Regions from separate parts of the Homo sapiens genome. Here all the other regions are linked to region 4. Evidence: promoter capture Hi-C in human tissues and cell types (Jung and others, 2019). All regions are on one chromosome and are shown on one strand. The core of a region is centred on a gene start or on the middle of the fragment in contact, and the rest is flanking DNA. Distances in the headings are between cores, read along the strand shown. Region 1 overlaps BRD1 (bromodomain containing 1). Region 2 holds the start of LOC124905145 (a long non-coding RNA gene). Region 3 has its middle 79 kb from the start of BRD1. Region 4 holds the start of ALG12 (ALG12 alpha-1,6-mannosyltransferase).

Region 1 (6,959 bases), core at 1,746-4,245, 130 kb before region 4:
CCGCATGTGCTCCGCGACCTTTTCCTTGGCTGCAGAAGAGTCTCCAACCTCGGAAGGACTACAGACAAAAAGGTTTTGGTCCCTAGCTGAGGAGAAGTTGGCTGGGTTTCAGTGTTCTTGGCAGACTTTGGGGGGCTTACACTTTTCGATTTGCAGAAGAGAACAGAAGTGCGTCTGTTTACATCGCTTGCTGGCTCCGCCACCGCGGAGGCCGCCGCCGCCGGCACATCGCCACTACTGGCGCGGGTGGGCTCTGGAGGGCGTCCGCTTACCAGTGCGCTCTGAGTGCAAGCGCTATGTGATTCATTATCAAATGTGACTCTTTTGAAAAGTTTACTCTGCTCTGGGTTGAGTTCTACTGGTTTGAGGGTTGGTGGTTCTGAATTAGTCTCCGAGTTTGAAGGAAGAGGTAATGCATCTGATGGTTCAAGTTTAGGGGGAGATTTATCTCCTGAAAAAATTATAAATAAAGTGATTTTTGAAAACTGAAGATTATAAAATCTATTATAAAACTTACTATAAATGTGAAGTCCACCAAAATACTAATTCAGTTAAGGAAACAAGGCATCGCATGTACTGTCTGCTCGGCAGTGTGGGCCCCGTGGGCTCGGGCCACACTGTGTGTGCTTCCCTAACGCCAAAGGCTGCGGCCCTGGGTGCAGTGCCCAGGCACACAGTTACTCTCTGAAAAAAACTGTGAAAGATTATTTCACATGCGCCAATATTAAACACGTCACTCGAGTTCATGACAGTTTCTGCAATGAATAATTCACTTACCTTGAGGAAGAAAAGGTATCTCACATAACTAAAGGGGCCTTAAACGGGCATTCCCACAGAGCTCTACTGGGCCACGAAGTTAGCAAATAAAAGGAAGGCAACATTAAATCTGATCTCTGGTCAAGGTCTTAAGTCAAAAATGCAAAAACAAACAAACAAACAAAAAAAACAGGGAGTGGTGAGTGGCTGTGGATGATTTTCAAGAAAGGCAGGGAAAAAAGCCCCGCTCCCCACAGCACAGAAGTCCGTGCCACGTTCCCAAATATTGTGATGGGAGCTTTCAGGAAAAAAAAATCTGACTTTTAAAAATAAGAAGTCTTTGGAAAAAGACGGCTTTAACCTCTTTTTAAAGTCTTTTTGACATTATAAAAACCGGAAGTGTGAAATGGTAAAAAGCCCGAGGTCAGGAGGACGGCCTGGGGCTGGTCTGTGGGGCTCTGTGCACTGTCCCGAGTCCAGGGGGCCGGACAGGCTCTGGCACGAGGCTAACAGGGCGAGGCGACGCCACAACAAGCCAAGCCCAGCCACTGAGGCTTCCTTCCAAGCAGGACCGGTACTGACAACAGGAAGTGTGACATAAAACCAAGGATTTTGTGATTATTTAAAGTGACATAAAACACTTTAAATAATCCTTAGTATATATTATCACTGGGTACAGTTTTCATTTCATTAAACCTGCAAACTTTCCTAAAACCGTTTGAAGTATGTATGGTTACTATTGTCATTCAAAAAGTTGTTTTGAAAATACAAAACTACACAACTTAACAGGACTCAGAGCAATGTTTTGAGGCTGAAGAAAGTTCTCCCAAGGCTGGGCCATGACGCCGGGCAGCAGTGCTTTCGGCTGCGAGGTGCCTCTGATTTTAAATGACACTCGGCGCCTTAGAGCACCTCACAGCCAATTCAAATACAAGGGGGAAGCCTCACCTCAACAAAAAGCCTCCCGTGTCAGCCGCAGGGAGCACAGCTGTCATGTGGGAATGCTGGATCCCAAGGCAGGGGCACATGCGAGGTGACAAAACTCCCTCCCTCCTGTTCAATGTCGCCAACAGGCTTAAGGAAAAGGTGTTTGTGAAACACCTGGGAACACTGGCCGGAGGGAACTGGGCAATGCGGAGAAGGGCTGCTGAAAGGCTGCTCATGAGCATCCCTGGTGCCTGTACAGCAGCAGGAGGGGATTCAGCACTGAGCCTGCAGCGTCCTGACGCAGCTGGTGTCTGGGGCACAGGGCCTGGGGCCTCACTTCACTTCCTGCCTCCTCTTCCACCTCCTAGCCTCCCCCCCCCGCCCCGAGCTCTCGCCCTGATTACGACATTCAACTGCTCACTGCAATCCCAATGGCCTCTGCAGGGCCAAGGCCAGTGGTCAACCCCAGTCTTGGCCTCTATGGGTGCAACAGCACCCGGCCAGCAGAGATGGAGCCTGAAGGAGTCTCCTCCCAGCACCTCCGGGAGACCCCCCTTCCCCCAACCACCTACAGCCCACCTTCTCCACAGCTATCTAACGGGCACCGTAAACCCCCATCTCCTGCTTCTGGTGCAACCCTCAGAACCACCACTCCTGTCTGGCAGGAGCCCTGAGACGTGCAGACGTCCCTGCCTTGCAGCAGGCCCTCCCCAACCATGGTCCACAACCCCTCCTCCACACCTCCAGCTCTCGGCCCAGCTAGGATGCCCCATGTGGGACTCATAACCATCTCCACGCTGCAGGGACTTCCCTAACCCCTGGTCTATCCCAAAGCGGGCCCCTGTGGCCCTGTCTCAGCCATGCATGCACCCCACACGCCCCTGGCCTCTCTGCGGCAGCTCCACATGCAGGCCGGGCTCCAGCCGCCAGCACGCAGGCTAAAGGATGCGTTCCTGCAGCACTGACCAGAGGCACAAAGGAGGCCGTGGTCAGGAACAGAGGTCGCTGTCGTCTGGGTGCTCAGCCACCTGCCCAGCCGGGACCACACAGGCCCCTCCCCCAGCCGGGACCACAGAGGCCCCCGGACCGTTCAGTGCCTCAGTTCCTCATCCATAAAATCAGAAAAAAACAGGACCTGAGCCTCCAGGCTCCACGACACAACAGGCAAGCCCAACCCGTCCCTCGAGTGGAAATGTGACTGGAAGTTGACATACAAGAAGGAAGACTCCTCTCAAAGCTCACTGACTCTGGGCCATCTCAGGCTGTCACTGAACTGCACATGGGAAAAGCTCAGAACATGCTCGATACAACTCGGGCATAAGCCTCTCAGACCCCGTCAATGTATCAGTCAGGATCCTAGAATTCCAGTCCCTGGAACTTGTCACATATTCCAAATGGCAAAATGGTTATCTAATCCAAACCAGCTACTCTAAGAAACTAAAACCTAGTTAAGTCTGCAAGAACAATTCCGCAATATTTTGCCCACCTGGCCACCTGCTATGTCAATCAAAGGTTTCTGTATCGAAGCCACAAGACGCTTTGGAAAATCACAGCGTAACACAGGCAGACATTTCAGCTCACGAGCAGCAACCACACTGTCCCTCCAACAACCCTGCCTCAAGCCTCCGTCCTCTGCAATCCTGAAGGGACAAAGCTGCGTACTCCGCACCTTCTACCCCGAGGAACATGCATCCTTCCTTTCCTGAGGGCCACAGTTCTCCACGTGCTCAGCGCCCGTGCACGGCAGGGGGACTTCCACACGTGCACTTCAAGGGACCACAGCTGCCCTGGACTAAAGGGGACGCCCCGGAGCCTCTGGCAAGGGCATCACTGTGACTGGAAATCCCAAGGACTCGAAATGCAAGCCCCTTTCACCAGCTCACGGTGCGGACCCTGCTCCTCCTGACTGCACTGACCTGCCTCACCATGTCAGCAGACACCAACCTCAGCACAGGGTGGAGACAAGCCCTCTGCCAGCTGCAGATCCGTCCCACAGGCTCATCAGACAGGCTGGAATCCCAGCTGTGGCGTGGCCCCCACCCAGCTGACACGCAGCCCCGGGGAAGTCAGCCCTGGCAGGGCCAGCTCACAGCAACAGCCCGAACCTCTGCACTCGGCAGACTGAGTCGCGGCTACGGCAGAGCCTGCGGGAGGGCCTGTACAAGGGGCAGACCGGGGCCAACAGTGCAGCCCAGGAGGCATCTCCTTCCTTCAGACACTAAAGTCTCAGGGGCCTGGCACTCAACGGCTACAGCCTTGTTCAAGCTGCTTCAAGTGGAAGCAAAATATAAACACAACACACAGACTGTTAAATTACAGTTTAAGTGAGACTGTGTATTTGCCATTGAGGAATTACTCTTTTCAGGTGTGAAAATATTGTGGTTATATTTAAGAAAAATGATGGAGAGGCTTTACTGATGAGAACGTTCATGCTGGGTTTTTAAATGTCTGATTCTTGGTTTTCATCCTATTATAAGTATCGTAAGTCACATTTCTATACCAACCAACAAGCTTGCTTGTGGCTGTCTTCCCTAATGACTTCCCCATTCCAGTCTGGCACTCGCCTCTCCACAGACCCCCATCTTCTCTGAGGGGCAGGACCCCGCCCGCCCCACCTCTCCAGAGACCCCCAACTTCTCTGAGGGGCAGGACCCCACCCGCCTCACCTCGGAGTGGACTTTCAGGCCACTTGCTTCTCCACCCACCTTCCCATCAGCTCACAGGAAACGCCCTTTTCATCAATTGAGTCATTGTGAACATTGGGTGTAACAGGTGATTCGAGGCCACCTGTGTCTCAGTCACATTGTGTTTTCCTTACAATGGCCCCAGAAAAAAAATAAAAATAAAATGATTCCAGAGCTACAAAGCAACAAAAATGGTCTCCAAAGGCTCCTGCTAAGCGTTGGGTGTTATGAGGAGCCACGCTCACCACAGCGGAGGGCCAAGCAGCTCCAACCATGCGAGGTCCTCAACCATGCGAGGTCCTCAGTCCTGTGACCCAATAACCGTGCGGGGTCCTCAGCCCTGTGACCCAATGGCAATGGAGGAAGCCACTGATAAAAAAAAAAAGCTAAAAAGGTAACTTACTGCTCTACAGTGAAAATGGTACAACTGTGTGCGAAGAGAAGCGCTGGAAGCTATTTTGAGAATGGTGAGTGGACCTGCTGGCAACCTCCTCACAGCTCAGTCCTCAGGGCACAGAAGACAAGGACAGAAGGGCAGTCCACCTAGAGGGAGGCCCACACAGCCAGAGGATGCCTCGGTGGGCTGCACGGAAGCAAAGGCTGCGGGACCAGGCACCAGCCTGGACTCCTGGGCACAATGGGGCGGCCCAGGGCCCGGACAGGTATGGCTGCCAGAGGGTCCTGTAGGCAAACGTTCCTCAGAAAAAACACGAGGCCCCCAAAGCAGAGGAGGGATCACGTGCCAACAATAACAGCCTTTGGGAGAAGAGAAAACCAAGCGCTCACCTTGAAATAGAAAAGCCTTTATTCTATGGACCTAACGTAATTGACGCCAGCCCCAAAAGAGACATTCTAGAGTCTGGGTACTATACTATGGTGAACTAAACAGAAGAATCCCAGAACAGAACAACAAACAGGCACAAAATGAGCAAAAGGATGCATAAGAAATTCTCAGCTGTGTGCACAGGAGTAAGTTTCTAAGAGAAAGAAAAGCTTAATGGCTCTCATTCAAGTTGCCCAAATGTAAAACAGGATAAAAGGGGCGAAGCTCTGCAGACAGGAGCCACAAGAAGTTCAGGGGATGAAAAGGGCCCTGAGACCATGGGGACCCGCTGACCTGTGTGGCATCATGAAGACACTGCGTCACTCCGAGCACAGACGTCCATAAGAGATGAACGTCTTTGTTTTAAAAGAAAATTGTACAACAATTCTGTGTCTTATTTCAACTGTCTGCTGTTCTGACTTGGATGTGCAGGGGAAGGGCAAGAAGGCTGAGAACCAGCTGCCAATGTTGTGGCAAGAGGGTCTGACCCTACTGTCTGCTTCGTGTAACCGGAGCGTGTCAAGGTCAACTGCAGAGACACACGGCAAAACACAGTGGCAATGACTTTCTATCAACGTCTCCAAATCCGATTTAGTTTTAAAATTCCTCTTTCACCAAATATGGGACACACCAGCTCTACTTCCTCACCCTGCCAACCTAGATGTACACAGACCATCGCTCGTAAACTCCCTCCTCACCATGCCAAGCCTGCATTTGCCCTGGGTTTTGCTAGTTCTCCTTCTAGATAGGCGGATTTCTTCTCCTACATTTATTTCTTAGTCATAAAAACATCTTTGCTGCCTGGACCTTTCCCCAGACATTCTTTGGCAACGATCACGGCTGCTACCTACCAACTCTGCAGAGGAGCTGGCCGGGGACCCTCGGGGCAGACAAGGCCTCTGCAGGTACCGTCCCTCCCTTCACAACATCAGGGAGGAGTGTTTAAGTGCCAATAATCTAAAACAGCCCTTTCAAAATGCTGCATTTGATGGCCTAGCGCACAATTAAATGGCTCCCCGCCAATTTACAAAATGCAACAAAAACATTTCTCACTCTCATCATTCAGGCTACCTTTACTCTTCAACACAGTGTAAGATCTAAACCATTCTTTTCAAATAGTTTCTCAGGCCCAAGTTAAAGAGAAAAATTTTATTCTGTGCCTTAAATTTTATCAACTGATTATGTGAGAAAACACAGACAGCACAAATGATAACGTCTCCTTAAAAGGAAACAACAGCCCAGTGGGAAAATCAAGTGTTCCGGGATTTGTGAATTTTACGGAACTGGCGCTAACCTGAGCCTCCGTGCACACCAACGCTGCTGCCCGTGTCTGGGTCTGTGCCTGTGCCTGTGCCTGAGCCTGAGCCGTGACGGCAAGAAAGCGGGGCAGCCCTCACCGTGGCTTACCTTCCTCGCCCGCCTCCGGCCCCAGCGCAGCTCCGTCCTCTTCGAAGCCTTCCAAGCCTGGCCCCGTGGGCAGGGGCTGGCTGTGCTGCTGGCTCAGCTTGTTTCGGAGAAGGGCAATTTCCTTTTTGAGCAGCTTTGCCCGCTTGCTCCGGGAGCCGCTGGACTTCATAGCGCAGGTGAGGTCGAGCATGTCCAGCAGCTCTCTCAGCTGCTCCTCCAGGCCCAGGTGGGCTCTGTTGGCGGGGTCCAGCAACCTGTCCACTGAACCAAAGGACACATGCTGTCAGTCATCAGGTCCCACGCACCTTCTGGGAACACATCACCGGTCCCGTCTTTCAAATCACCTTCGGCCAAGGCCCTGA
Region 2 (7,535 bases), core at 5,016-7,515, 250 kb before region 4:
ACCCACAGGGGTCACAGCCCAAGATCTGAGAGCAGCTCCAAGTGCAGGAGGGGCCGCGCCGTCCACTCTCCCACACTCTGGTGTGCCCAGGCAACTTCATCAGGGACAGCTGAGAAAGGAAGAGACACATTTAGGAGAGTTCCATCTGAAATACCCAAAGTTAAACAATTAACATAAAAGCGCGGGTTGGTGCCCACAGATGCTCCCCTCCCATTGCCACAGCCTCTCACCTGCACCAAGGACCCAAGGCCACCAGCCTCCCTGTCCACTCGCAGGTCTGGGACCCCCCAGTACTCGGACCGGACTTTGTCTCTTCCCTGCTTAAGCAGCAGCCCTGCCCCTGCAGCCCCCAGACCCCAGAGCAGGATCGAGGAGGGAATACCATTCTGGCACCCCCAAAACCATGGAGGCAGAAGCTGTGTCTGCCTGTGACCGAGTTCTGTCCCCAGCTCCAGAGGGTGCCCAGGCCCAGGTATGGAGCCCCCAGCCTACCTGCAAAGGCCCCTCTGTGGGCAGCAGCCTGCAGCCCTGCCAGGCACTGCATCCGTTCTTGAAGGAGTCCCTCATCACCCCCCAACCCCACAGGCTGGAGCCCCACAGGGGCTGTGTCCACTTCTGGACACCAGGGTCCAGCTCAGGGCCCGGTACATCTGGTGGGTCAGAGCCAGCTCACTCAGCCTCTGCAAGAAAATCATCTTTAGATTGCAGGGTCCAGGATGAGAGTATTTTAAATATTGGAAACCCGAGTCATGGGTCAGGGAAGGAAGACAGAATGGGTGAAAAACCAAGACGGCGCCCTGGCCAGGTCCTCCTGGCATCTCCCGTCACTCTTGACCCAGGTCAGGGTCTCCATCTCTAGAGACCAGTTGGCCAACGGCTCCTTCCCACCCACACACAGGTGAAGCCAGGCCCAGCCATCTGGCAGAGACCTGGGTTTGGTTGTCCGAAGTCCTCAGCCTTCTAATCCCGGATTCTCCAACCTGGGTTGCAGCCAGGGACCCTGTCACGTGCATTTGAATTGGAGGCGGCTCAGCCAGAGACCACTGGCAGCATTGAGATGCTTTGGTTGGATGGAGGCATTTGGGTTTCAGCAGCTGCCACATCTGATTAGACCTGATGCATTGAGCCCGACATGCCGGGCGGCTGTTAGCGCTGCTGCTGAGGAAACCAGTGATCCAGAAAGAACACCGCGGCCCGGCACGCCGTGCTGCAGTCGGGAACGAGCAGCCTGCTCCTTTGCTGGGTGTGAACACTCTGAATAATCAGCCATCGAGAGGGAAGGGGGCCAGAAACACCACGCGGTCCCTCGGATCCCACTCTGTCCTGCCTCTGAGATCCTTGTGTTGTTTTTCTGATCAGAAGCGCCGCTTTCCTTAACAAGACAGAGGAGAGACGTGGGCACGTGTCTCTGGCTTCCTGCCTTATTATTTCAATAGCTCAGAACCAAGCAGAGGAGAGCAAGGAGCCCCGTCAGCACTCTCTGCTCAGCCGAGGTGGGTGGAAATCCAGCCATGAGGCAGGCAGGCCCCGGGGAGCACAGGGCAGCGCCCCCGTGCTCGGAGGCCTGCTCAGTCCCAGCGCCGCCCCCAGGCCTGCAGACCCTCCAGACCCTGCTGACCCCCAGCCCCGCTGGCCGCAGGCTGCTCTGTGGCTCACTCGGGGCTGGCCTGACCCACGGCACAAGCGGGGACGCTGGGGGGCTCACATCACTTTTCTACACCCTCTCTGAAGGTGGGCAGCAGGTGGGCAAAACAGCTTGAATAAATATATAAATCATAAAGCATTATCAATCCCACTCATACACATAGATATATAAATCATAAAAAGCATCATCAAACTGAATCCACCAATAAATGCTAGAATAGCACATCATGGTCACACTGAATTTATCCTGGAAATTCAAAGTTTAACATAAGAGAATAGAATGCTCAAAATCAAAGCAATTCACTCCATCAACAGAGAGGAGAAAGATCACGTGTAGCTCAATCAATACAGAAAAAGAATCTGAAAAAAAATCATTCCTTCATGACAAAATAAAAAACTCTGGCTAATGAAGAACAGAAGGTAACTCTAATGAAAGGCATTTGTAAAAAAACTACCAAAAAAAAAAAAACTACAAAAGACATCACACAGCCACTGAAAGTGCCTCTTTGACATTAAGAGAAAAATCAAATATTCTTGTTTCCATCAGCGCCCATCAGAAATGAGCTGGAGGCCTGTTTACAAGGCGAAAAAAAAATACATAAGAGTTCCAAAGGAAGACACAGAACTGCATGTATTCATAGATGATGAGATAAATAATCTATAGGATTACAGGAGTTAAACAAGACTGCCAAGGACAAAATTAACATAACAAATCCATTATTTCTACAGCAATCCACAACTAGAAAATGAAAGATTTTAAAACATACCATATGCAATAATATTTTTTAAATAGTTGAGATTTAGAAGTATATCTAACAGAGTCCAAGACATCCAGAGACCTTCATGAAACTTTCCTGAGAAGCTTTAAAGACGACCACCACAGTTGGAGGAACGTTCCTATCAACCAGCTCGAGGACTCAGGGTAGCCAAGATGCCAGCTCCCCTCCAGGAGTCTACTGAGCTGATCTTTGTGGAACTTGACAAGCCGAGTCCACAATTCATGCCAGAGTGCAAGCAGTGAAGAATGATAGTACAGCTGGCTCCACCACGCAGGACTTGTCATAAAGCCACAGTGACAGACAGTGTGGCGTCGGCCAGAGGCTCAACAAATAGCCCAGAAGAGAAGGAAGTGGCCAGAAGCAGGGCCAGCCTCATGTAGATACCCATGTAGGAAAGGGCAGAACCATGGAGCCAGGGGAAAAGCAGTTCCCTCTATGAATGATGCTGCGACCCAGGACATACACATGCAACAGTAACAAAACCGAACCCTCCCTCACACCATACCCCGGGGGTCAGCACATATTTTCTGTAAAGGGCCACAGTCGTTTGGGCCCTGGAAAGCCACTTAGTTGGCGTCTGCCTCAACCACTCAATATGTGCATGGCTATGTTCCAATAAAACTTTATTGACACAAACAAGTGGTCAGCCGGAGTTGGCCCTCAGGCTGTAGCTCACTGACCCCTGCCATGCCCAAAAATCATTCCTCATGAATCACAGACCTAATTGTGAAAGACAAAACTCTATAGTTCTTAAAAGACAAGATAGGCCAGGTGCAGTGGCTCATGCCTGTAAATCCCAGCACTTTGGGAGGCCGAGGCAGGTGGCTCACCTGAGGTCAGGAGTTCGAGACCAGTCTGACCAACATGGTGAAACCCCATCTCTACTAAAAACACAAAAATTAGCCAGGCCTGGTGGCAGGCACCTGTAATCCCAGCTACTCGGGAGGCTGAGGCAGGAGAATCACTTGAATGTGGGAGGCAGAGATTGCAGTGAGCCAATATTGCACCACTGCACTCCAGACGGAGTGAGACCTCATCTCCAAAAAAGAGAGGAAGGCAGGAAGGGAGGGAGGGAGGCAGGCAGTAAATAACTTCATGATCTCAGAGTAGAAATGAATTTCTCTAAAAAGGCACAAAGAAAAACTCCTACCCATAAAAGGAAAATATTGATAAATTCAACTACATTAAAAGTGAAAGCTTATGTTCACCCAAAAACTATCCACAACATGTAAAAGAAAAACAAAAAAACAAAAGAAGCTCTTTAAAGACCAAAAGCAACAGAGAAGAGACAAAAGTCCTGAACTGAAACTTGGTAGACAGGAAATATCCGCGGGCGGAAAACGCGCTTCCTGTTCCAAGTCACAGGGAAATGCAAATCCAAACACTGAGCGGCCACAGCACACCCTCCCCCTCAACACCCCCACCCTCCCCCCACACCCCTCCACCCCGGCTCCCCAGGGTCCCGTGCTGGTTCGGCTTAGGCTTTGAGGACCTACACCATCCCTCTGAGAGCAGCCCAGCCTTACCCGGAATGGGCCCAGCCAGCCTGGGGTCCTGCAGGACAAGGCAGGTCAGGGACGGTGGAGGCACCGAGAGAAAGCGCAGCATGAGGGGATCCTGACCACCCTGGGGCCCCCAGCCCAGCACGCGCAGGTGGGGGGAGGTCCTGACCATCCTGGGGCCCCCAGCTCAGCACATGCAGGTGGGAGGAGGTCCTGACCACCCTGGGGCCCCCAGCTCAGCACGCGCAGGTGGGGGGAGGTCCTGACCATCCTGGGGCCCCCAGCTCAGCACATGCAGGTGGGGGGAGGTCCTGACCACCCTGGGGCCCCCAGCCCAGCACGCGCAGGTGGGGGGAGGTCCTGACCATCCTGGGGCCCCCAGCTCAGCACATGCAGGTGGGGGGAGGTCCTGACCATCCTGGGGCCCCCAGCTCAGCACATGCAGGTGGGGGGAGGTCCTGACCACCCTGGGGCCCCCAGCTCAGCACGCGCAGGTGGGGGGAGGTCCTGACCATCCTGGGGCCCCCAGCTCAGCAGGCGCAGGTGGGAGGAGGTCCTGACCACCCTGGGGCCCCCAGCTCAGCACGCGCAGGTGGGGGGAGGTCCTGACCATCCTGGGGCCCCCAGCTCAGCACATGCAGGTGGGAGGAGGTCCTGACCACCCTGGGGCCTCCCAGCTCAGCGCTCAAGTTGGGGCGAGGGGGGGGCGGGGGGGCGGGCAGGGGCAGGGTCCTGACCACCCAGGGCCCCCGGCTCAGCACACGCAGGTGGAAGAAGGGGAGCTAAGTACCTGGCAGCTTGTCCCACATCCTCCCTCTCCAAAGACAAAGCATCATTTTCCTGCCCCCTGAAGTCGGCCATGCAGCCCCCCAGCACCTGCAGAAGCGTGATCCCACACTGGGGTCCAGGCCTTGCCACCATGGTGGAGGTCCTGCTGGGGTCCCGGCCCTGTCACCGGAGGCCACAGCTGAGTCGCTGCCGTGGTGGCTCTGCTGCCAGGGTTCCAGCCCTGTCACTGGAGGCCAAGGCTGAGTTGGGAGATGAGGCCACAGCAGCAGCAAGGGCAGGGGACTCCACTCCACAGGCCAGGCGGGAGATGCGGGGCCCGATGGGAGAAGGCCCTCCAAGGGTGGCACAGCACACCCCGTGTGGGAGGGAGGAGACGCCCCAACCACAGAACAGACAAAGCCACGTGGAAGGCGACTCAGCAAAGAAAACGCGTGATCCGAGTCCCTTACAAAGACGGCTCCACGACACAACGTCCAGAAACAGGTGAAAACTGGCCGGTGTTCCAGGATGCCCGCAGTCTGGAAAACTTCCGAGGAACATTTTATAGTCAATTTTGTGATTTCAAGAAAATGTGTTAAACAGTCATGAGGGCTCTGTCAGGCATCCAGCACCATTTTAAACGTGTAAAACACGAACACACCCCACTATCACAGTGACACTCTGTAAAAGGAACCAACGCTTCCTGGATGCAAAGTCCAGTTGACAGTGACCCACGGACCCCAAAAGCTGCCCAGCTCCGACGCAGCTGCTCTTCCTGGCTCCCGGCCTGGCCCTGAGAGCCCTTAGATGGTCACTGCTCTATCCCTGTGTCCGGAATTGGTGGGTTCTATGGTCTCACTGACTTCAAGAATGAAGCCACAGACCCTCGCAGTGAGTGTTACAGTTCTTACAGGCAGTGCGTCTGGAGTTTGTTCCTTCTGATGTTTGGATGTGTTCCGAGTTTCCTCCTTCTGGTGGGTTCATGGTCTTGCTGGCTCAGAAGTGAAGCTACAGACCTTAGCAGTAAGTATTACAGCTCATAAAGGCAGTACTGACCCAAAGACCAGAGTGAGCAGCAGCAAGATTTAGCGCAAAGAGCAAAAGAACAAAGCTTCCACACTGCTGGGAAAGGAACCCAGCAAGTTACCACTGCTGGCCCTGGGCAGCCTGCTTTTATTCCCTTATCTGTCCCCACCCACATCCTGCTGATTGGTCCATTTTACAGAGAGCTGATTGGTCTGTTTTGACAGGGTGCTGATTGGTACGTTTACAACCCCTGAGCTGGACAGAAAAGTTCTCCAAGTCCCCACTAGATTAGCTATACACAGAACACTGATTGGGGCATTCACAAACCTTGAGCTAGACACAGGGTGCTGATTGGTGCATTTACAAACCTTGAGCTAGACATGGAGTGCTGATTGGTGCATTTACAAACCTTGAGCTAGACACAGGGTGCTGATTGGTGCATTTACAAACCTTGAGCTAGACACAGAGTGCTGATTGGTGTATTTACAATCCCTTAGCTAGACATAAAGGTTCTCCAAGTCCCCAACAGATTAGCTAGATACAGAGTGCTGATTTACAAACCTTGAGCTAGGGACAGGGTGCTGATTGGTGTATTTACAAACCTTGAGCTAGACACAGGGTGCAGATTGGTGTATTTACAATCCCTTAGCTAGACATAAAGGTTCTCCAAGTCCCCAATAGATTAGCTAGATACAGAGTGCTGATTTACAAACCTTGAGCTAGGGACAGGGTGCTGATTGGTGCATTTACAAACCTTGAGCTACACACAGAGTGCTGATTGGTGTATTTACAATCCCTTAGCTAGACATAAACGTTCTCCAAGTCCCCACTAGACTCAGGAGCCTAGCTGGCTTCAGCCAGTGGATCCTGCACCGAGGCTGCAGGTGGAGCTGCCTGCCAGTCCCGTGCGCCCGCACTCCTCAGCCCTTGGGCGGTGGATGGGACTGGGCGCCGCGGAGCAGGGGGCGGCGCTCGTCGGGGAGGCTCGGGCCGCGCAGGAGCCCAGGGTGGCGCAGGGAGGCTCGGACATGGCGGGCTGCAGGTACCGAGCCCTGCCCCGCGGGGAGGCAGCTGAGGCCCGGCGGGAATTCGAGCGCAGCGCCGGGGGGCCGGCACTGCTGGGGGACCCGGCGCACCCTCCACAGCTGCCGGCCCGGGTGCTAAGGCCCTCACTGCCCGGCCCGCGGCGCCAGCCGGCCGCTCCCAGCGCGAGGCCCACGGAGCCCACGCCCACCCGGAACTCGCGCCGGCCCTCGAGCGCCGCGCAGCCCCGGTTCGCGCCCGCGCCCCTCCCTCCACACCTCCCCGCAAGCAGAGGGAGCCGGCTCCGGCCTCGGCCAGCCAGAGAGGGGCCCCCACAGCGCGGTGGCGGGATGCAGGGCTCCTCGGGCGTGGCCAGAGCGGACGCCCAGGCCGAGGAGGCGCTGAGAGTGAGTGACGGCTGCGTGGGCTGCCACCTGTCACCCGGCCCGGGAGAGCGCTTCCCTCCCAGCGGGCAGCCTGCCCCAGCCAGCCCTCGGCTCTCAACCCGGGGGTCAGCGTTTCCTGCAGGAGCCTCTGCTAGCTCCAGCTGGAGCACTGGCTGGTTGAGGGGAGGGGATTGAACACTTGGAACCCAGACCCCGGCTGGGGATGGGGAGGGAGGCTGGAGACCACCATCTGCTCCCACAGGGCTGAGTCTTGGTGCCGGCCAAGCCCTGACCCCCTCCAGCCCCACCCACGCCCCTCGTCACCCCCGGCCCCTGCCGTCCCTGCGTCCTCTGCACCCCCAGCCCCTCACGTCACCTCCTGCCCTCCCCACGCAAATCCTGCGCTC
Region 3 (6,724 bases), core at 1,706-4,205, 170 kb before region 4:
ATTGTCAAATATATTCAATTTTTGTTTGTTACAGGTCCAGGAATACAACCATATACATATTGTTTTACACAATTGATTTTCAAATCACTCAAAGAAGAAATGTGCATTTATACTGTCTTTTGTAATTCATTATTACATTTCTAGGGCTCTTTTTTTTTGGTGTGGATTCACATTTCCATCTGGGATCACTTTCAAGGCAGATCTGCCAACCATGAATTATTTTGGCTTTTGTTTATCTGAGAACTTATTTGGCCTTCATGTTGAAAGATCGTTTTCAGGCTATGACAATCTTGATTTACAGGTTTGTTTGGGTTTTTTTTTCAGTCCTTTAAATATGTCATCCTACTGCCTCCTGGCCTTCATTGTTTCTGATGAAAAGTCACCGGTTAATCTTGTTGGAGTGACCATGACCATGACCATGAGGAGTCATTTTTTTCTCTTGCTACTTTCAGGATGTTTTTTGGTTGTTTTTTGTTTTGTTTTGTGTTTTGCTTTCGGCTTTCACTATTTACTATGATGAGTCTGCATGGGGATTTCTTTGCATTTATTCTACTTTGAGGTCACAGGGTTTCTCAGATGTATAGATGAATGTGTTCAGCAAATCTGGGAAATTTCCAGGCATTATTTGTTCACATATTTGTTCTGTCTTTTCTCCTTTTCTTCTCAAGTAAACCTGTGATGAGGATGTTGGTGACTGAAAGTTGTCCCACATTGCTCTGAGGTTCTATTCATTTTTCTTCCATTTTCTGTTTTTCAGATTGCATATCTCTATGAATCTATATTCACATTCACTGATTCCTTCTTCTGCCAGTTCTAAACCACCATTGACCCCCTCTAAAAAAATCTTTTTCAATTATTTTTCAACTCCAACATTTTCACTTGATTCTTTCATAGTTTCTTTTTATTCATAGTCTGTATTTGAGTCTCTATTGATAGTTTCTATTCATACTCTCACTGTCTTCATGTCTTCCTTTACTTCTTTCTTGTAGAAAGTAAAAGTTCCTCTTCAAAGTTTCCCTTCTTGTTAAAGAATAAATCATGAGTGTTAGAAATAATAGTTTCTTTTAAAGACTAACTTTATGCTAGACATGCTCATGGACATGTAGTACATTCTGTGTCCTTGTACTTTAACCAAGATATCTGTGCTGGACGTGCTCACAGGCATGTCCCAGCTCGCAGCCTATACCCCTTCCTTATTTGGGAATGTTATTACTTTTCTAATTCTTTCATAAGCAGCTTCCTCTTTTCCTTTATCCTTCCATTACTTTTACCTATTTAGAAAAGTTTTATACTGTTAGCCAATCGGGTTTTAGTTTAAATTGTGCTGTCTGGCTCTAGCCAATGGAGACAGGACACAGTAACAGGGACAAACTGCATAAGGGATAAAAATTGCTTCCCTCCTTTGTTCAGGTGTGCTCTCACCATTATTCCATCTGCGAGGAGCACCCTTTCTGCAGGAAGTAAAGATTGCCTTGCTGAGAGAATTAAATTTATGTTCAAGTGCTATTTCTTTGCAGCACCGGGGAGCAAGCATTTACATATAACAATTCTGCATGGTTTTCTTTATTTCTTTGACTGTATTAATGATGGATACTTGGAGGTCCCTGTCTGTTAAGTCTGGCATCTGATCCCTCCCATGGGCAGCTTCTGTTACTGCTCTTTTCCCTGTGTATCCGTCATGCATTCCTATTTATTTTAATGTCTCTTAGGTTTTGTTAAGAACTGGACATTTTAAATAATATTTTATAGTAACTCTGGATACTGATTCCCGACCCCCCACCCCCTAGGGCTTGTTTTTGTTGTTGTTTGAGTATTTATTTCTGACTTGGCTAGGTTACTTTAGTAACATTTATTTCCCCCGTAGAATGGCATTTCCCCTTTCAGTGGCATTCTCTAGTGGGCTCAGCCTTGGGTGTATACACAACCACCCTAGATGACAGCAGTTTTGTTTTCACTGGGGCTATTCCTGTCTCTTTCCCTGATCTCTCTGTTAAGCTCTCTGCCTCATTTGCCATTACCCTCAGCCTGTTAAGCTCCACTAATTACCTGCTGGTCGCTCTATTGTTTTTCACTAAGCCCTGGGGCATTAATTGCTCAGCATACTAATTCAATTAAATCCAGGCAGAAATAGTTTTGAGTTCCAGTCTTAGGTTGATTCTGACCCAGGAGGGCACTTCTTAGCTATCTCTTTACTTAGTTCTTCCAGCAAACTAGCTGGCCCGTGGTAACAGCTCATTGCTGTTAATTAGGAACTATTGTTTTCTTTTCTTTTTAACTTTAATTTTAGGTTCAGAGGTACATGTGCAAGTTTGTTATACAGGTAAACTCCTGTCATGGGGGTTTGTTGTGCAGATTATTTCATTACTCAGATACTAAGCCTAGTACCCAATAGTTATTTTTTCTTATCCTCTCCCTCCTCCCACCCTCAATTTTAACAGCACCTGATATATGGAAGGAACTCAACGGTTTCCTGAATTTTTGACTTAGCTTTCTTACAATAACGTATGATTTACACTTGTCTCATGCAGGCTAAAGGCAGAGGGAGCAGGCAGGGCTGCTTGGGGGTCTAAACCCACAAAGCCTGCCCCTGGGAAAGGGACTGGGTGCTGTGAGGCTTAGAGGCTCCAGCTCAGCCTGAAAGGTGCAGGTCAGGCCTCTGCTGGGAGGCAGGCAGCCCTTCAGGGGTGATTTTCATGGAGTGTGAAACTGGACCAGAGACCCCTACACACACCCGAGGCCCCTGGGCTCAGAGGTTAGAGGTCAGATGCTGCCCTTGTCTTCCTGTTTCCCCAGGAGGAGGCTGCCTACAGGACCCAGGACGATGGCACCCGGGTGCCCAGTGCACGCCTGGGGTCCCCACCACCAGTACCACCCCACCTACCATAGGCCCAGGACCTTGGGCTCAGCCCCAGCCCCAGAGGAAGGAGGAAACTGACAGGTCCAGGACCTTGGGCTCAGCCTCAGCCCCAGAGGAAGGAAGAGACCAAGGACAGCAGCACCTGGGTGCCCAGTGCACGCCTGGGGTCCCCACAACCAGTGCCATCCCCACCCCCTGCAGGCCGAGGACCGTGGGCTCAGCCCCAGCCCCGGCCCCAGCCCCAGCCCCAGCCCCAGCCCCAGCCCCAGAGGAAGGAGGCTGCAGGGCCCTCCACCTTCTGTACTCAGGGCCTGTCTGGAGTTTTCCTAATTAGCTCTCACTGTCTCCAGGTGATGTGAGCCAACTGCGTGTGTGTGACGCTATTCACAGCACACAGGGCAGAGCTGGTGCTCCCAACCACAGGTGTTCAGGGCACAGAGGCTGCCTTACTTGGCCTGGTTACACATGCAGCTTCTCTATTGATTGTCCGTCAAGCGAGCCTGCTCCAGACCCAGCTTCTGGGAGTCCTGAAGGACCCACAATCCCTAGGGTTATCCTGCCCGGCAACCCTAGGTAGTCCCACATCCTCCACCCACCAGCACAGGGGACGTTCATGAGCCCCACCCAGGCACAGAGCTGTGGGGAGGGGGCGTCTCGTGGAAGGTGAGCCTGGAGGCAGGGCCGTGCCCCTGGAGCCATACAGGGGCTCAAAAGGACCTCCTTTCCCCTCCTGGGGACACCAACTGGACTGCGTCCAGCCTGGGCCCTGGGTTCTCAGAGCTTTTCCCGGGAGAAAGACACCCCAGCCTCCCCTGACAAGCTTGTTCCCAGGACAGCAGCCGGGTTGGACGCCCAGTAAGGGGGCCTTGCCTCCTGCCCTCTCCATCAAGACAATCATACAGGGAAGAAAGGCTTCAGTGCCAGGGGAAAGTAGGGGGCCTAGGACAGAAGCAGCCCCCGGGGGAGGCAGGGGTCAGCCTCCAGGAGCTCCCGGTGGGGAAGAGCCTGGCAGAAATGTGAGCAGTGCTCTGGAATGAGTCAACCAGCGACAGCAGGCAAGTGGGGGCACCCTCCAATTGTCCTGAGAAGGGCCAGTTTCTGAGCCAAGGCTGCAGCAGCCTAAAGTCCCTGCGGCTGCAGCCTCCATCCCACCAGTCACAGCGACCAAGCCTTGTGGGGAAGACCTCGCCCTGCTCCCCTCTGGCCAACCGGGGTCTGCACTCTGAGCCTCTCCAGAGTGTCCGGCAGGGCCTGCAGGGCAGGAGGCAGCGCCCACTCCGTGGGGAGCACAGGTGCCCTTCACCCCTACCCCACCCACAGGGCTCCAGGCAGGACAGGCAGGGCAGGGGTCCGCAGCCCCCCACATGGCCATCCCGGGGCTCCACGGCATCACATGGAATGTCTCTGAGCAGCTCTGCCCGAGCCTTCCCCTCCAGAGCAGGCCCCGACCCCCAGCCCCAGGCTCACCCCAAGGCCCCCGTCCTCAGCCAGGGCCCCCATGCACTGCCCCAGGTGTCCCAGCCCTGATGGCTACTCCCCGGGGGTCCCACCGCAGTCCCTGTTTCACCCCTGACCCCTCTGCTGGGACATCCAGCCAGGGACCACTGGGCCCTGTGCCCTCCCATGGGGTTCAACGTCCCCACCCCATGGCGGCCTTCTGGGGACTCCCGTTGGGATCGTGGGGGCAGCACCAGTATGGGGCAGGGGACAGAGCCGATTCCCTGCGCAGGTGTGGTTTGGTCCGCGAGGGCTACGGGGTCCTGGGGGAACGGTGGGCGGCAACCAGGAGAGCCCGGCAGGGACCCCCCCCATGCCAGGCCCAGTGCGGCCAGGAGGACCCAAGAGGGGTGAATGAATGAATGAACGAATGAATGAATGAGGGAAGGAAGGGGAGGGGAGGGGAGGCCAGGCCCTGAGGGCAGGGCAGGTCCCACCCCTGTCTCAGGCCCCCCATGAGGCAGATGGGCCCACCCTGCAGGAGCCCCTCATTCACTGCCCTGGGAGATTCCCAGCCATGTCCTGCCCTGCGGGGCCTCGGGGTCCAGGGAAGAAGTGGCCCCCTCCGGCCCCTCACAGAGGCGCCCGCTGCACCTGAGGGTCCTCGACCCCACCCCGCCATCCCCCGGACCCCCGCCCTGGGCTCCAGCTTCCTCCCCACCAGCCCCACCAGCCCCGGGAAAGGCCACGCTGTCTCCTGCCTCCCCGCGGAGGTCTCATGAGCCGCCGCGCCCCGGGCTGCGAAGAAACACCCCAGTCCCCTCCCCCGCGACCCTCCCTGCCTCCTGGGTACCCTGCAGACCCCACACGGGACCCCCAGGCAGGTGTGACCTCGAAGAGAAGCCACATTTCACCACCTCCTCAGAGACTCAGATGAAGGTCCACACACTAAATGCAGATCTGGAGGAGGCGGAGCAGGGTCACTTCTGACTTTTTTTGTTTTTGTTTTTGTTTGAGATGGAATCTCGCTCTGTCGCCCAGGCTGGAGTGCGATCTCGCAGTGGTGCAATCTCGGCTCACTGCAAGCTCTGCCTCCCGGGTTCACGCCATTCTCCTGCCTCAGCCTCCCAAGTAGCTGGGACTACAGGCGACCACCACCAGGCCCGGCTAATTTTGTTTTTGTATTTTCAGTAGAGACGGGGTTTCACTGTGTTAGCCAGGATGGTATCAATCTCCTGACCTTGTGATCCGCCCACCTCGGCCTCCCAAAGCTCTGGGATCACAGGTGTGAGCCACCGTGCCCGGCCCAGACTTTTCTTTTCTGTGAATGCTACATGTTTTGGCATCTAGCCTGACAGGTAGAATTTACTTGCAAGGACCTCACATTGATCATCAGTCAAGGATCAGGGCTCCAGAAGTAAATCATACAGAAAGTGATCACACCGTGTCTCAGGCCACACATGGCCCGTGCGTGCCAGTCCCAGGCCACACATGGCCCGTGCACTCCAGGCCCAGGCCAAGCCTGCGGCCGAGTGGGCAGGTGACCCTGGGAGGAGCAGAGGAGACGGGAAGGCAGGTGCCCCTCAGCTCCCTCCAGCGCCCACCTGGCTGTGGTTTCTCAGCGGGAACAAGAAGAATGAAGACCAAACCCTGAGGGGAAGATGTTTCCCAGCCTCTGGGCCAGAAAAGCTGCTCCAGGGAGGAGAGGGGTTGCACATGGTGCCCCACGTCCCCTGTCAGAGGCCGCTGGCAGGACCACATCCCAGAGCCCCCCCAGAACCCGGGAGGCGCAGGCCTGGAGCCCAGCCAGGCACACACCAGGGCTACTCTGACCCTGGAAAGAGGTTAGAAACAGCCGCTGTCTGGATTCTCAATGACAAAGGGATGGATGTTGAGGAAGACAGAGGGGGAGTGGGTGTGGGAAGGAGGACACTGAACAGAAAGGGCCTGGATGCCCACGATAACAAAAGCAAAAGCTGAGGAAACTTCACAGGGGGCAGGGTTGGAAAGAGGAGGGGTGGGGTTCAGGCTAGACAGAGGAGGGGTGTGGTTTAGGCTGGACAGAGGAGGGGGTGGGGTTCAGCCTGGACAGAGGAGGGGTGTGGTTCAGACTGGACAGAGGAGGGGGTGGGGTTCGGGCTTGTTCTGCAAACCCAGCGTGGGTACCTCGGCCTTTCTTATCCCCAGCATGCACTTGGAGCCTGTGCCCCTCACCTGTCGGCGCTCCCAGCTCGGGGGTTTGTGCCCCTTCCTGGTCCCCTCCCCTTGGGTGTTGCCGGGACCTGTTTCTTGCTCCTAAGCCACATCATAGGATCAAAGCGATAGAGTGTCCGTGGCTAAGTGTGTGTGCACGACCACACCACGCACGATTGTGACCCTGCCTTGCTGGAGCCGCTGTCTCCTTTGCTGCGGGAACACAGCAGCCGTGCT
Region 4 (7,439 bases), core at 3,677-6,176:
GTCGTACTGCGAGGAGAAGGGCAGGTCAGTGCACCGGGGCCCTGCCAGCTGGTAACATGAGGTTTTCCCCAAAGACAGCAGGGGCCCCTCACCTGCTCCAGGTCTTGCCAGTGGTAGAGCAGGTCATGTGTGGCCTGCAGGTTGAAGCTCTCCTCCACTTTGGTGTAGGGACAGATGACCAGGTGGACAGTGGCTACGGCCACCAGCAGCCCCAGCAGCAGGGGCCGCCTGCCTGATGACCCCTTTCCAGCCATTCCAGGCTTTCAGCTTCACGTACCTTCACAGGCCAACAGTGCGAGACACCAGCCGTTAGCACTGCCACTCCACGCATGCTGGAAAAGTGGAAACAGATTCCTGAGGTTCGAAAGTCACGCTTGCGCTCACGTTTGGGAGATCCGGGTAAAGGGTTAGCAGAATTCTCTGAACTACTGTCTTAGTCGCACTACTACAAATCTGAAAACGCATCAAGATGGAAAGTTTGGAGAAAAAATCACACTTGAGAATCTTTCATACTGTAACCAGTGATCTGACACTTCCAGCTCTGTGAATGTTTTTCTAGGCAGAAGGATCTCAGTCGCAGAACCCTGAGTCTGACCAGGCCTGGGCCACGAGGGCAATGGAGGGTGGTAAATGGCCCCTGCCCCCCAGTCTAAATCTGGCAGGAGAGTCAGCAAAACCCAGGCTTGGCCCCGAGGGAACCGGCTGAAGAAGACGGAATGGGAGGCTGAGGGGTGCCAGTTAGCTGGGTGGGAGGCACCAAGCTGGAGAGTGGTGGACAGGGGCCCCGGGAGGGCAAGAAACTGAACGTAGTACAGCTGCTGGGACACAGGGCTCGAGTGGCCAGCAAAGCCCCCGCTCCCAGGAATGGTGGGATGGGGCTGTGGACGCCTGCGCCGAACCCCACCCTGGGGGCTGGGAGAAGCCATGGCCGGCTTTCCCAAAGGTGGCACCACACTGGCCATGAGCCTGCATGTGAGCCTGGGAAGACTGGCAATGGGTCCCCCAAACACTAACAGGACAACCTCAGGGGCCCGTGGCACGGAGCTTCCTGAGAGGCCAGCAACATGTCCAGCTGCTACACGTGAGAGACCAAGGGAGGGGAGGGGGCAAACTCTTCACGTTTCTGGCTTCTTTTAAAACAGATTTGATTTTATTCAATCCAAACCAGAAGGGCCAGAAGCAAAGGGAGAGAGAACCCCAGGGCTTACCATTTATTAAAACTACTTTAAAAATTTTTTTTAAGAGACAGCGTCTTACTCTGTCACCCAAGCTGGAGTGCAGTGGAGTGATCATGGCTCACTGCAGCCTCAAACTCCTGGGATCCTTTTGCCTGAGCCTCCTGAGTAGCCGCAGCTACAGGTGTGGGTCACCACACTCAGCTAAGTTTTCTTATTTTTTGTAAAGACAGGGTCTTGCTTTGTAGCCCAGGCTGGTATGGAATTCCTGGCTTCAAGCCATCTTCCTACCTTGGCCTCCTGAAGTATTGGGATTACAGGCGTGGGCCACCATGCCCAGCCAAAACTATCTTTTGATCAAACGGAGAGTTAAGAAGTATACAAAGATGGCAACCAAAGGAAAATCTGTAGATTAGAAGGAAGGAGAACCCTATTTGATATGGTGGGCAGGGGGTGGAGAGAAAGAAAAAAGAAAGCTTTAATAATTTTACGACTGAAATGGTATGCAGTTCTCTCCTTTGCCAAATATAAAAACCTGGGGCCGGGCGCGGTCGCTCATTCCCGTAATCCCAGCTCTTTGGGAGGCTGAGGGCCAGGTGCGGTGGCTCATTCCCATAATCCCAGCTCTTCGGGAGGCTGAGGTGGGTGGATCACGAGGTCAGCAGATCAAGACCATCCTGGCCAACATGGTGAAACCCTGTCTCTACTAAAAATACAAAAATTAGCTGGGCATGGTAGTGCACGCCTATAATCCCAGCTACTCGGGAGGCTAAGGCAGGAGAATCGCTTGAGCCCAGGAGGCAGAGGCCGCAGTGAGCCGAGATCACACCACTGAAATCCAGTCTGGGCCACAGAGCGTGACTCCGTCTCAGAAATAAATAAATAGATAATAAAAAAATTTAAAAAAATAAACTTGGTATCAAACAAAGAGAAAGGTCGAAGGACTAGGTTAGGAATCACTAACTGAGGGAGGGCCCACTCAGCTGTCTCCCACTTGCTAAGACACAAGCTTTTTGACGGTGGGGGGTTTTTGATGCTGGATGATTTTTCCCACCAGCGCAGCCTCAGCACCAAGGACAGAGGCCAGCCGCTGTGGCCTGAAGGCTGCCTCGCTGCCACCTCCCCTGCTGGACTCATCCTGCGGGCAGGGCTTGCTTGGTGGACTCACTGCTGAATCAGCAAAGCCTGCCGCACAGTAGGCACTCAACAAGGCTGCCGAAGAAGAAATCGGTAAAAACTCCTACATGGGGTTCTCATCACACCAGCTCACGTGCTTATTAAAAATTCCAGCAGCCGGGAGCGGTGGCTCATTCCTGTAATCCCAGCACTTTGGGAGGCTGAGGCGGGTGGATCACAAGGTCAAGAGATCGAGACCAGCTTGGCCAACATGGTAAAACCCCGTCTCTACTAAAAATACAAAAAAATTAGCTGGAGTGGTGGCGAGTAGTCCCAGCTACTTGGGAGGCTGAGGCAGGAGAATGGTGTGAACCCAGGAGGTGGAGCTTGCAGTGAGCCGAGATCGCGCCACTGCACTCCTGCCTGGGCGACAGAGCAAGACTCCATCTCAAAAATAAATAAATAAATTAATTAAATTAAATAAAAATATGTTCCAACGGCCGGGCGTGGTGGCTCATGCCTGTAATCCCAGCACTTTGGGAGGCTGAGGTGGGTGGATCACAAGGTCAGGAATTCAAGACCAGCCTAGCCAGCATGGTGAAACCTCATCTCTACTAAAAATACAAAAATTAGCTGGGCATGGTGGTGTGCGCCTGTAATCCCAACTACTTGGAAGGCAGAGGAGGAGAATTGCTTGAACTCGGGAGGCAGAGGTTGCAGCAAGCCAAGATCGCACCACTGTACTCCAGCCTGGACAACAGAGCCAGACTCCGTCTCAAAAAAAAAGAAATAGGAAGCAAGCCGGATGTGTTGGCTCACGCCTGTAATTCCAGCTACTCAGGAGTTCAAGACCAACCTGGGCTACAGAGCCAGACCCCATCTCCACAAAAATAATCCCAGCTACTCAGGAAGCTGACATGGGGGGTACTGCTTGAGGCCCGGAGTTCAAGACCAACTTGGGCTACATCATGAGACCCCATTTCTACAAAAATAAAAAATAAAACGGAACGGGGAGCATCTACGTGCCAAGATGTGGGAGGTGCACACAGCAAGTGCTGCTTGGCAGTCCCCCACAACCCCACTCCACACCTCTCCACCCAGGGGAGTTCCCCAGCAAGGAAGAGTTCAGCTGTGGGGTGAAAACATTACGTGCTGACTCTGACACTCCTGGCGGGCCCCCAGCACCTCCTCGGACCCAACAAGGTGTGCCTTCTGCTGATGACCAGCACAGCTCACTTTCGAGGGCATGAGAAGACCAAGGGTGAGTCTGGATTCTCTGCCAGGAGCACGGGAAGACCAAGTCAACACCAGCAAGCACGAAAACCACGACGAACCCCCCACCAGGCGAGGGTGAACGGACACTGTCCTGCACTAGCCCACTCTGCTGGGCAGCTGGGCAGCAGCTGTGGCTAATCTAAGTGACGGGTGCTTCGAGAGCACCCACAGGTTAAAACGGGCCCAGGCCATGACACTTTAAAATGGTGGTTTACAGAACAATGGCATCTCAGATTAGGGAATGACCTGCAAAGACCCTCTTGTCCCCATCAATCCAGATTTTAAGGCCTCTACCGAAATTGATCAAATCAGGCTAAGCATGGTGGCTCACGCCTGTAACCCTAGCACTTTGGGAGGCTGAGGCAGGCAGATCGCTTGAGGTCAGGACTTCGAGACCAGCCTGGCCAACATGGTGAAACCCCGTCTCTACTAAAAATACAAAAATTAGCCGGACCTGGTGGTGGGTGCCTGTAATCCCAACTTAGGAGGCTGAGGCAGCAGAATCACAGGAACCTGGAAGGCGGAGCTTGCAGTGAGCTGAGATCGCGCCACTGCACTCCAGCCTGGGCGACAAAGTGAGACTCCGTCTCAAAAAAACAGAAAAGAAACTGGTCAAATCAGATGTTACTTTTTTTTTTTTTAAATGTGCAGTGTTATCTGCACTCCTTCCTTCCACAGGCAGGAGTTCTCTGAAATCCAGACGCTGCACGTTTTATTTCCCCTAATTTAAACCAGGGGTTCCTGAACATGAGCGAGTGTTCATCACCTCAAGCGCCTGTAGAAATGCAGATCCCCAGCCCCCAGAGACCCTAAGTGGACCCCAGATCCCCAGCCCCCAGGTGAAAAACCCATCCCCCAGGTGGGAGGTCCGGCCCCAGGTGAGGAGCCCGGCCCCAGGTGAGAGGTCCAGCCCCAGGTGAGAGGTCGGGCCCCCGGATGAGAGGTCCGGCCCCCGGGTGAGAGGTCTGGCCCCCAGGTGACAGGTCCAGCCCCAGGTGAGGAGCCCGGCCCCAAGTGAGGGGTGCAGCCCCAGGTAAGGAGCACGGGGCTGTGACGCGTGGACATGCGCGGTGAGGCCTCAGGAATCCAGCGCCAGCGCCAGCTCGGGTCGCGCCCTCGCCCGCCTCCTCCCTGGTCTCGCCGCGCGCCCGCCTGAAGGCCCCGGTCGCGGCAGCGCGCACTGACCTCCGCAGCTCCCGGCGGCGTCCTTCGAAGCGCGGCTGCCTGGGCCAGCCTCGGCAGGAAGCAGGACGGCGGAAACAGAACAGAGCCCGAATCTAAAGTCCTTGCCCAAATCTAAAGTGGCTACCGCAGCCCCGGCCGCTACGGCCGCAGAGACCCTCTGTGCCCTGAGTAAAGATGGCCGCCGCGGGCTGCGCGCGAGGGGCGGGGAGCGGGAGGCGGGGTCGGACCTGCACGCCCCGCCCCCGGACTCCTGGCGGCCGCTGATCCGGGGCCTTCCCATTGGTCACCTCTCGTGGCGAACTCGGATTGGGCCATATCAGGCCGGGGCGGGTCCCATCAACCAATAGCGGCGCGGGGCTGGCGGGTGGGGCGGGGCCTCGCCGGCGCCGTCAAGTAGCCTGGGGGACAGGCCGGCGCGGCTGGGAGCGGGTGGGCGGCCGGGAGGCCGGAGCAGCACGGCCGCAGGACCTGGAGCTCCGGCTGCGTCTTCCCGCAGCGCTACCCGCCATGCGCCTGCCGCGCCGGGCCGCGCTGGGGCTCCTGCCGCTTCTGCTGCTGCTGCCGCCCGCGCCGGAGGCCGCCAAGAAGCCGACGCCCTGCCACCGGTGCCGGGGGCTGGTGGACAAGTTTAACCAGGTGGGAAGGGGCCGGGCGGGGTCGTCAACCTTGGGCCCGGGGTCCCCCTCACCCTGCATCCGGGGTCGCCCCACCTTGGGCCCAGGGTCGCCCTCACCCTGGATCCGGGGTCCCCCTCACCCTGGATTCGGGATCCCCCTCACCGTCGATCCAGAGTCCCTCCACCGTGGTCCTGGAGTCCCCCTCACCCTTGACCCGGATCCACCCCCACCGTGGAACCAGGGTCGACGCCACCGTGGGCCTGGAGTCCCCTCACCCTCGACCTGGGCTCGCCCCCACCCTGGACCCGGGTCAGGTGGTACCAAGCACTATGGGCACTGTCTCCTCGCAGGGGATGGTGGACACCGCAAAGAAGAACTTTGGCGGCGGGAACACGGCTTGGGAGGAAAAGACGCTGTCCAAGTACGAGTCCAGGTGGGTGCCCTGGAGCACCCCTGTGGGTCTTGGCCTGGCGCTGTCCTGGGAAGTCGTGTCCTGCCTTTGGTGCCTGTGTTAATGACAGGGAGACAGAACAGCCCCCGAGGCACCAGTCACCCGTCCGAGTCACCTCGGCTTCTCCCTGAGGACTAATGGCTGGCCCCTCTCTGGCCTTCCAGCTTCTGCTCTGGTCCCTACCCCCTCAACAGACAGTGGCTTTTCAAAATGTAAACTGGAACACCAGCCCCACTTGTGGGAACCGCTCCTGGCTTCCCCTGACAGTGGGGTCCCCTTATTCTCTGTGCCCGGAGTCCTGGCTCCCCGGCCCCTGCACCCAGGTTGGCGTATTGGTTCGGATTTTTCTTCACTGCCTTGGAGGCGCTGACGGTGGGCCGGTGTGGGCCTGTGTTTCAGCGAGATTCGCCTGCTGGAGATCCTGGAGGGGCTGTGCGAGAGCAGCGACTTCGAATGCAATCAGATGCTAGAGGCGCAGGAGGAGCACCTGGAGGCCTGGTGGCTGCAGCTGTGAGTGCCTTAAAACCTCTTAGAAGATACTTTTTATTTTCCAACTTAGAATTTGAAATAACCTCAGACTTAGAAAGGTACAGGAACAGTAGGGAGCTCCCACCTGCCTCGCACCCACCTTACCCCTGCATTACCGTTTTTTATCACCAGAGTCAGCGATCAAAACCAGGAAATTAAGGAGAAGATTCTGTCCACACCTAGACTCTTGTTTCCTGGACCTTACAATACTCCAGAGCATATGTTACGTTCAGCTGCATGTTTGTTTTAAAGAACCGTGTCTGCTGGGATTCAGTGAATGTTTTCCTCCATCCTCAGGAAGAGCGAATATCCTGACTTATTCGAGTGGTTTTGTGTGAAGACACTGAAAGTGTGCTGCTCTCCAGGAACCTACGGTCCCGACTGTCTCGGTGCGTTTCTCCTCAGGGAAATCCCATCTCCTACGTCACTTCCCCTCTTCTTCTCATGATTCTTGGGAGGTAAAAGCACAGAGGGGACCTGGGGTGCATCAGCTTTCTGTAGGGTCTGGGACCCTGCCGGATGGCTGCCTCCCCCATCCCCAACACAGCTTGGAGCACTTCGCACCGTCTGGCTGCAGCCTCACCACTAACCTCATGCTTTAGCGTAAAACTCTGAGTATGTCTTCCCAGCTGTGCTGTTAATTCAGGGGTTCACAGACTCAGGTTGTTCACAGCTGAGTCCACTCACCTGAGAGTCTGTCCTGACTGACCTGTCCAGGTGCTTCTCCCTGTGTGCACAGAGGTGACCACACCACAACTTCTGTGGCTGCTATTGCAGAGAGCGCAGGGCACTGGGTGTCTATCAGGCTGGGCACATGGCCTTGAGCCCCAATGGGTGCCAAGGGACAGGGCTCTTCTGTGAAGAAGTGTGCATTGAAACTGAAGTCACGGTTTACTGTTTATAAAAGCCAATCTCGTGGTCAAGCGAGATCAGGTAGCAGAAGTTTCAGGTTCAGACCCCCCACCCGCCCACCATCAGCCTTCTGCCAGCCCCTGCTGCTGTCCCTGGCATGCACTGGAGGCCGCAGCTAATGTTCCCACTCTCCCTGCAGTCCCCGCGCCTGACGCGTCAGTGTCCCTATCACCATGTTTC

Evidence for each region. The method cuts DNA at HindIII sites, captures the fragments that hold promoters and counts their contacts. A contact is called where the count stands out against the background at its distance.
Region 1: a contact is called between a fragment that was not itself captured here and the fragment with the promoter of ALG12 in region 4, in 1 of the 25 tissues and cell types used here (spleen).
Region 2: a contact is called between a fragment that was not itself captured here and the fragment with the promoter of ALG12 in region 4, in 2 of the 25 tissues and cell types used here (H1 embryonic stem cells and lymphoblastoid cells).
Region 3: a fragment that was not itself captured here is called in contact with the fragment with the promoter of ALG12 in region 4 in 1 of the 25 tissues and cell types used here (spleen).

The regions. Positions count from the first base shown.
Region 1 is chr22:49,787,437-49,794,395 of GRCh38, forward strand. It overlaps BRD1 (bromodomain containing 1), which reads right to left. Exons shown (of 13, transcript NM_001304808.3): 7 at 6,598-6,858; 8 at 1-451. Among named protein-coding and RNA genes, the nearest start is that of BRD1, 37 kb to the right of the region's middle. The HindIII fragment of the contact is 3,563 bases long and covers 1,215-4,777 here.
Region 2 is chr22:49,663,569-49,671,103 of GRCh38, forward strand. LOC124905145 (a long non-coding RNA gene) reads right to left here and starts at 5,841. Exons shown (of 2, transcript XR_007068151.1): 1 at 4,802-5,841; 2 at 1-109. RefSeq lists silencers at 1,048-1,227, 5,679-5,879, 6,438-6,487, 7,228-7,277 and an enhancer at 1,062-1,592. The HindIII fragment of the contact is 6,404 bases long and covers 3,064-7,535 here.
Region 3 is chr22:49,745,863-49,752,586 of GRCh38, forward strand. No RefSeq gene overlaps it. Among named protein-coding and RNA genes, the nearest start is that of BRD1, 79 kb to the right of the region's middle. The HindIII fragment of the contact is 5,781 bases long and covers 66-5,846 here.
Region 4 is chr22:49,913,512-49,920,950 of GRCh38, forward strand. It overlaps ALG12 (ALG12 alpha-1,6-mannosyltransferase), which reads right to left and starts at 4,927. Exons shown (of 10, transcript NM_024105.4): 1 at 4,752-4,927; 2 at 93-332; 3 at 1-6. The coding sequence starts at 254. CRELD2 (CRELD disulfide isomerase 2) reads left to right here and starts at 5,123. Exons shown (of 10, transcript NM_024324.5): 1 at 5,123-5,387; 2 at 5,719-5,801; 3 at 6,219-6,329; 4 at 6,645-6,736. The coding sequence starts at 5,259. RefSeq lists silencers at 4,517-4,716, 4,827-5,326. The HindIII fragment of the contact is 10,539 bases long and covers 1,918-7,439 here.